Linked DNA regions of Homo sapiens: region 2 is linked to region 1. Evidence: promoter capture Hi-C in 16 types of primary human blood cells and fetal thymus (Javierre and others, 2016). All regions are on one chromosome and are shown on one strand. The core of a region is centred on a gene start or on the middle of the fragment in contact, and the rest is flanking DNA. Distances in the headings are between cores, read along the strand shown. Region 1 holds the start of INA (internexin neuronal intermediate filament protein alpha). Region 2 overlaps SFXN2 (sideroflexin 2).

Region 1 (4,013 bases), core at 662-3,161:
AAAAAAAAAAAGAGTCTCACTGCACTAAGCAGAATTATGTAGTGAAGAGAGAATGTATGCTTGTCTTTGCTTGCTGGTGACCTTGTGCTGCACCCGCACCTCGGTGCCTTATCTATAAGATGGAGGTGAGGGCCACCTTGAAGCATGGTTCAGAGGTAAACCTATGCAAAAGTGCCAGCACAAGTACTGGCAGACAATCATTACTCAGCAGTGTTAGCAATCTTTTATTGTTCACCTTACCAGGTCTTTCTAAGCCCAAAGACCTCAGAATTGAGTCCCTCCAACTCAAGGCTTTGGTCTGTGATGAGGAACCAGAGGGGCAGGCTGTGGCAGGGCCTGACCATCTTCCATGACATCAAGCACAAAGCCAAGAGATATGCTCCAAAGTCCCATAAGATCCCTTTTCACCCTTCCTTTAGTGGCCTGTCCCAAGCATATTCCCCTTTCCCCATGAAGTAAAACTTATCCTAGAACTACGTCCTTGAAGATTCCAATATCAATAAAAGGCCCTCAGTCTGGAATTCTGGGATATAACTAAAAAGGTCTTCCTACTCCCTCTCCAAAGCCATATCCACATCCTGAATGATATTAGAAGCTTGCAAGTGGGTACATATTACAGACGCCACACTGACCCCTCCCAGCCTTCATCTTTTCAGATTCCATTCTTTGATTCTCACCCCCTGCCCCACCAACCCTACCATGTGGCAGAAGAGGCCGGCTCAGTCACCAGCACTCTCCCCCACTCCTGGAGTTTAATCTTTTTGCAGGGATCTCTTTTCTCCAAAAAGAGATCTGCACAGGGAGTGGCTCTCTGAAGCCAGTTGAGAACCTGCCCTGCTGGATTTACACAAACTGAAATCTCAAATGCCCACAGGGTCAGAGAGGTAAAGTAAATGAATTAAGAAGGGGGGCGTAATTCAGTGGAGAATGGCAGGGACTGTAGTGAACAGGAGAGCACACTTCTTATACAAATGGCAAGGGCAACTCACCTCTGCCACTGTGGGCATCCCAGCTCTTCCCATTTTCAGAAGAAGCCAGAAATCCAATTTCTTTACAGGTGAAATCTCCTGGTTTAAAAATGCTCCTTTCGAAATATTTTAAAATATAATGCTCTAAACACAAAAGTCTGCAGCCCCCTTTCCAGCAGCTTGTGGTCCTGGCCTGTGCCATGCTTTAGTGCCCTAACGATGAGCCCCAGCAATTCCCAGCGCCTCCTGCTTCTCCAAGTCTGGCCTCTTTTCCCCTCTGTACCGCCGCTTCTCCCCACTCTCCGCAGCTCGGGGTCACTTTCTTTACTGATCTCCCCTCTCTTCTGGGAGAGGCACTTGCTGAACATCTTTCCGCCCGGAGCCTCCCCAGGAGCTGCAGAGGGGCAGCTGGAGAGATGCTTTCTGACGTAGCATCTCCCACCTTTCTCCTTGGGGACCCTGAGGAAGGGGACAAGGGCTCGCTCTGCAGGTCCTCACTGTAACTGGAAAAACACGACCTCGCCCTCGGGAAGGCTTTCTGTGCGCCTCACCTCAGGATGAGGGTGGGTGTAGGGGACACCTCCCAGAAACCCCTAACCTCCCAGTCGGTTAAAGAAGAGGGGATAGGGTCAAGGGATGCGACAGAGCTGTGTGGTTTCCGGATGGGAAACCTCAGTCGTTTAGGCACCCCTCCGCTCGAGTCACTTCCGAAGCAGTCGATTCTTGGGGAGAAGCGCTGCGGAAAGGGGCGACTCCGATGCAGATGGCCCTGTCCCGGCGCCCCAGGTCGTCGCGCGCGCAGCTGCGGTAGTCACTGCGCCTCCCCGCCCCCACTCCTGGATGCCCCCCTTCCCTCTCCCGGCCAGACTCTGAGCAGGAGCTCCGCCCCCAGCGCGCCGCCCCAGCCCCGGCGCCTTAAAAGCCGGGCGCACCGCCCCGCCGCGCCCTGCCTGCCGCACCTCTCCTTTCTTCTGTAGCTCGCGTTGAAGCCGCACGTCCGGCCCCGATCCCGGCACCATGAGCTTCGGCTCGGAGCACTACCTGTGCTCCTCCTCCTCCTACCGCAAGGTGTTCGGGGATGGCTCTCGCCTGTCCGCCCGCCTCTCTGGGGCCGGCGGCGCGGGCGGCTTCCGCTCGCAGTCGCTGTCCCGCAGCAATGTGGCCTCCTCGGCCGCCTGCTCCTCGGCCTCGTCGCTCGGCCTCGGCCTGGCCTATCGCCGGCCGCCGGCGTCCGACGGGCTGGACCTGAGCCAGGCGGCGGCGCGCACCAACGAGTACAAGATCATCCGCACCAACGAGAAGGAGCAGCTGCAGGGCCTCAACGACCGCTTCGCCGTGTTCATCGAGAAGGTGCATCAGCTGGAGACGCAGAACCGCGCGTTGGAGGCCGAGCTGGCCGCGCTGCGACAGCGCCACGCTGAGCCGTCGCGCGTCGGCGAGCTCTTCCAGCGCGAGCTGCGCGACCTGCGCGCGCAGCTGGAGGAGGCCAGCTCGGCTCGCTCGCAGGCCCTGCTGGAGCGCGACGGGCTGGCGGAGGAGGTGCAGCGGCTGCGGGCGCGCTGCGAGGAGGAGAGCCGCGGACGCGAAGGCGCCGAGCGCGCCCTGAAGGCGCAGCAGCGCGACGTGGACGGCGCCACGCTGGCCCGCCTGGACCTGGAGAAGAAGGTGGAGTCGCTGCTGGACGAGCTGGCCTTCGTACGCCAGGTGCACGACGAGGAGGTAGCCGAGCTGCTGGCCACGCTGCAGGCGTCGTCGCAGGCCGCGGCCGAGGTGGACGTGACTGTGGCTAAACCAGACCTGACCTCGGCTCTGAGGGAGATCCGCGCCCAGTATGAGTCCCTGGCCGCTAAGAACCTGCAGTCCGCGGAAGAATGGTACAAGTCCAAGTTTGCCAACCTGAACGAGCAGGCGGCGCGCAGCACCGAGGCCATCCGGGCCAGCCGCGAGGAGATCCACGAGTATCGGCGCCAGCTGCAGGCGCGCACCATCGAGATCGAGGGCCTGCGCGGGGCCAACGAGTCCTTGGAGAGGCAGATCCTGGAGCTGGAGGAGCGGCACAGTGCCGAGGTAGCTGGCTACCAGGTAAGGGCCGGGGCTGGGCGTGGGGAGGGGTGCCCTGCCCTCTTCCGCGCGTACCCTCTTCCTCTGGTAAAACTGGGCCCCAGGACTTAAGGGGAGGGCAAAAGAGAGGAGAGAAGAGCCGCGGCTGGAGGCGCTGGTTAACAAAAAACCCTGGAGTCTTTAATGTTAATTTTAGGGAACGCCCCTCATTTATGTCCCTGCCCCAGCCCTTCAAACAAAGAAGCCCTTAAATTTATTTGAGGTTCGAAAACCCAACTCTGCCTGTCTGTCAGCAAGCGGGCCTACACACACCGGCGACCCGGAGAACAGTGCCCCACCCAAAGTAAGACTGAGCCCAACGGGGCAGGTTACGTGGGCGGTGCTGTCTCGGCTATCTGGCTTGTTTGGTTGACTTTGAAAAGCTTTCTGTGCGCCCTAGAAGTTATTTATGGAGTATGGTCTGCTTCAGGGCTGAAGGAAGAATGCGATCCTGAACTGGGAAGAGTCCTATCCCATTTTCTTGACTTTCGCGCTCCAAAAAGTAGAGATTGGGAGCCAACAAGCTGAGCGATGCTTGAGCTAGTAGTAACCACCCTGCTCTACCCACCTCCCCAACACACACACACACACGATTCCCTTGTCCACCAGCACACACACACACACACACACACACACACACGATTCCCTTGTCCACCAGCTGACATTTCCTCCTTAAGAAAGCGTTCGCCGGTTGGCAAAACGTGAAAGGTCGGGGCGCTGTCCACGGTGCTGATCTCGAGTTCTTCCCATCTCAGAAATTATGTCTCTCCTGTCTCGTGTCCCAGTTATGAATCTCTAGGCAATTAACTGCTTTGATTTTTTTTTTCCTGCAACACCAACACATCAGTCTTGGCTACCTGCAATCAAAGGTCACCTCATAGACAACATCAGTTTTGGCTTTCATGGATGGCTTAGCACTAAACAAAAAACACTTAATTTGCTCAG
Region 2 (4,013 bases), core at 828-3,327, 550 kb before region 1:
TGAACATGTTGACAAAGGTATGGTCTGGGGCCGCTGCAGCATGGTGGCCACGCGGGGGCAGCAGAGTCCTAGGGAAAACGTCCTTCCCCCAGGGACAGTTCCCCAGGCTGGGTGAGTTGGGAATGGCCAGAGCCCGGCTGGCCAAGTGATGAGAAATACACCAGGGCCGTCCCCAGGTTGGTTCTTCTTGGGCCTTTGAGGGAGTTTGGGGTTCCCAGACTGGGTGTCTGGATGTGTGGCGGTAGCAAGGCCTAGTTTTCTTTTTTGTATTCTAGTCGTTCAGCCCCCTCCCCTCCCATCTTCCAGCGCTTCTGAACAACTCCTACTGTTCTCTTCCCCCAACAGAAAGCGCCGCCCTTGGTGGGCCGCTGGGTGCCCTTTGCCGCTGTGGCTGCGGCTAACTGTGTCAATATCCCCATGATGCGACAGCAGTGAGTAAAGGCCCCTTTTTCTCCCTACAAACCACAAGATTAGCAGAAAAGGGGCAAGAAACCAAAGCAGTGGGTGGCTTCTGGGGACTGCGGTGGGCATGGGGAGGGCTGCTGGGCTGAGCCTCTGAAGGGCCCTGGGATTGGCAGCTCCCATGGTGATGGCCCCGGGAGTGGTGGGTGACTTTGGGTTAGGCCGTGTGTTGAGTCCCGTGGGAGTCCTCTCCTGGGTGATGTGGGATGGGAAAGACAGGGTGGACCTGTGGAGTTTTACACTGGATCATGTCCTTTTGGACCTGTGTTAAAATTGTGAACTCCTCCTACTTCCCAAGCCCTGGGGATGGCATACAGAATGAAATGTAGCAGGCTGAGGTGTCTAAAGATAGCATAGAACCCAGAAGCTTTGAAAGAAGCCAGAGGAGTAGACAGAAGTTTTCCAGGCACCCAACTCTAAGCTTTTCAGGAGAAAAGGTAAAGGAGAAACTCATTGTGTCTCACAGTTCTTATTTCTTGACTAGAGAAATCTCTGTTATGAGGTTTTAATGATGTAATATATGTAAAGCACTCAAAATAGCACCTGGAACATAAGAGATGCTACATAAGTGTTCACTGTTATTTCTACCATTGTCATCATCATCAATATCTACAAGCCACATTTTCTTGGGACTACCAACAAATGGAAAATGTTCACACTAGTCTTTGTAGAGGAAGCACTACCAGAATAGTTGTGCACACATGCTGCTCCATTCATCTTTCCTTCCCCATCCAGTGGCCCTTTCCTAACAGGAGAATGAGTCCCTGCCACCTACCGGGGCTTGAGTTGAGTGCTGTCAAGAACTGGCCTGAGAAGAACAGCTGGGGTGGGCTGGGTGCGGTGGCTCACGCCTGTAATCCCAGCACTTTGGGATGCTGAGGCAGGAGGATCACCTGAGGCCAGGAGTTTGAGACCAGCCTGGCCAACATGGCAAAACCCCATCTCTACTAAAAATACAAAAATTAGGGCCAGGCGTGGTAGCTCACGCCTGTAATCCCAGCACTTTGGGAGGCTGAGGTGGGCGGATCACGAGGTCAGGAGATCGAGACCATCCTGGCTAACACGGTGAAACCCCGTCTCTACTAAAAAATACAAAAAATTAGCCAGGTATGGTGGCGGGTGCCTGTAGTCCCGGCAACTTGGGAGGCTGAGGCAGGAGAATGTTGTGAACCCGGGAGGCGGAGCTTGTAGTGAGCCAAGATCGCACCACTGCACTCCAGCCTGGGTGACAGAGTGAGACTCCATCACAAAAAAAAAACCAAAAAACAAAAACAAAAATTAGCCGGGCATGGTGGCGCATGCCTGTAATTCTAGCTACTGGGGAGGTTGAGGCAGGAGAATCGCTTGAACCCAGGAGATGGAGGTTGCAGTGAGCCAAGATCATGCCACTACACTCCAGCCTGGGTGACAGAGTGCGATTGTCTCAAAAAAAAAAAAAAAAAAAAAAGGAATAGCTAGAGTAGCTACTGTTTGTGGAGTGATCACACTGTGTGTCAGGTGCTGGACCAAGTATTTCATAGCCATTATCTCATTTAATCCTTACCAGGTCCTGTAAAGTGGGTGCCAGGATGATCCCCATTTTGCAGATAAGCAAAACTGAGGCTTTGGGAGGGTTAAAGACTGTGCTCAAGGTCACACACATCCCCTGCAGTTTCAGGACTCAACCCAGACAGTCCGGGCCCAGGGCCACCGCTCTCAGCCACTGCCCTAGATCACTCCTAAGATACTGCTTATTGGAGTGCAGAAGGAAGGTCAAAGGCCCAGGCTACAGGAGGTGGCTTCCTGGAGCTTAAGTGGCCTGGCCTTGGTCCCCTGGCATGTCATGTGGCTGGCAGGCTTCCATCACCCCTTTCCCAAGTCCATTAACTCCTGTCTGTGTTTAGGGAGCTCATAAAGGGAATCTGCGTGAAGGACAGGAATGAAAATGAGATTGGTCATTCCCGGGTGAGCAGAGGCCTCCCTTTGGGGTGGGAGGAGGGAATTCCCTCTCATACCCTGTCCCCTCCTTAGTGGTCAGAGTAGGCACCAATATAGGATTGAGAAGCCTTTTCTGGCTCCATCCTCACTCCCTATCAAATTTTCCCCATGTTTCTCTGTTCAGAACAGGCCCCTTCTCTCTTTTCTCCATCATTTCTGGTCCATAAAAACCTGGCTAGGTGGGAGGGGATAAAGTGAGGTCACTCAGCAACTGGAGGGTCCTTCCCTTCCCCTTTACCATCTCAGACTTGGCCATGATGCTGACCCAGCCCCCTGGTGCAGCACATGTACACTGGATACATCATTTCTGACAACTTACTATTTTCTGCCCTCAGAGAGCTGCGGCCATAGGCATCACCCAAGTAGTTATTTCTCGGATCACCATGTCAGCTCCTGGGATGAGTAAGATGGGGAAGCCCTTCCATCCTGGGGAAGCCTGTGACACAGGGTGGAGGTCTCAGCCACACTCAGCTTTTGGGTGGGAGGTGGGGCCCACCTTCTACAGCCATGCTTCTCAAACTGCTTTGCTTGATTGCTGTAAGCCTAGAAGAACCACACTAGTTCCTAGAACATCAGTTCATCCAAGGTTTGGGGTAGAAAGTTATTTTCATTTTATTAATACTTGTCAAGCCCTTGTGTTTAATGTTAGACACAGTGTGGGGTGCTAGGGAGAGTGATAGAGAAAATAAATTCCCTGCTTTGGTTTGCTTCCAGCAGTGGGTGTATTGCAAAATTTGTTTGCACGAACGTACAAATACATTTTTGAGTTTTGAGAAGGTAGCTTTGGACCTAGCAGCACATGTTTTCCTGATATTGCAAGTGTGCAGGTTGAGAAGCTTGGGAAGCACTGTTCTGCCAGGACTTTGGGGAGAAAGTTTGGGGGTGGTCATGCCTACTTGCTCTTCTGTTCTGCCTAGTGGTAAGTATTTTCTGGAGCTTCTGCTGAAGGAGAGGGAACCACTTGGTTCCTGGTCTGACTTCAGAAGGAGTCCTGGGGAGAGCCTCCCAGCCCTCCCCTCAGCTTCTCCCTGGTCTCTTCCAGTCTTGCTGCCAGTCATCATGGAAAGGCTTGAGAAATTGCACTTCATGCAGGTATGTAGGGTTTGCTTTGGCATTTTCCCTGCCCAGAGTGCGTCCAGCCACATCTGTCCCTAGGGATACCTGACCTGCCCTCCCCCACCCATCCTTCCCTTTAGCTACCATGCTGTCATCTCACTCAAGCCCACACCAATCTCCACTGACCTCCTGTTTAGATATACCATGGCCAGTTTCCTTACCTGGTCTGCAGAGAACAAGGCCTTCTTTAAGGGCCAGGGGGTCCTTGCCTGTGGGTTTTTCTTTTTTCTTTTGAGATGGAGTCTCGCTCTGTCGCCCAGGCTGGAGTGCAGTGGCGCGATCTTGGCTCACTGCAAGCTCCGCTTCCTGGGTTCATGCCATTCTCCTGCCTCAGCCTCCCGAGCAGCTGGGACTACAGGTGCCTGCCACCACGCCCAGCTATTTTTTTTGTATTTTTAGTAGAGACGGGTTTTCACTGTGTTAGCCAGGATGGTCTCGATCTCCTGACCTTGTGATCT

Evidence for each region. Contacts are between HindIII fragments. The CHiCAGO score rates a contact against its expected background, and 5 or more counts as called.
Region 2: a contact is called between a fragment that was not itself captured here and the fragment with the promoter of INA in region 1, in 1 of 17 cell types (endothelial precursors). The highest score is 5.2, in endothelial precursors.

Annotation. Positions count from the first base shown.
Region 1 is chr10:103,275,227-103,279,239 of GRCh38, forward strand. It overlaps INA (internexin neuronal intermediate filament protein alpha), which reads left to right and starts at 1,912. Exons shown (of 3, transcript NM_032727.4): 1 at 1,912-3,050. The coding sequence starts at 1,986. RefSeq lists an enhancer at 2,327-2,931. The HindIII fragment of the contact is 2,856 bases long and covers 594-3,449 here.
Region 2 is chr10:102,729,378-102,733,390 of GRCh38, forward strand. It overlaps SFXN2 (sideroflexin 2), which reads left to right. Exons shown (of 12, transcript NM_178858.6): 5 at 1-17; 6 at 346-431; 7 at 2,346-2,406; 8 at 2,775-2,841; 9 at 3,482-3,531. Among named protein-coding and RNA genes, the nearest start is that of WBP1L, 13 kb to the right of the region's middle. RefSeq lists enhancers at 1-170, 171-943. The HindIII fragment of the contact is 2,392 bases long and covers 882-3,273 here.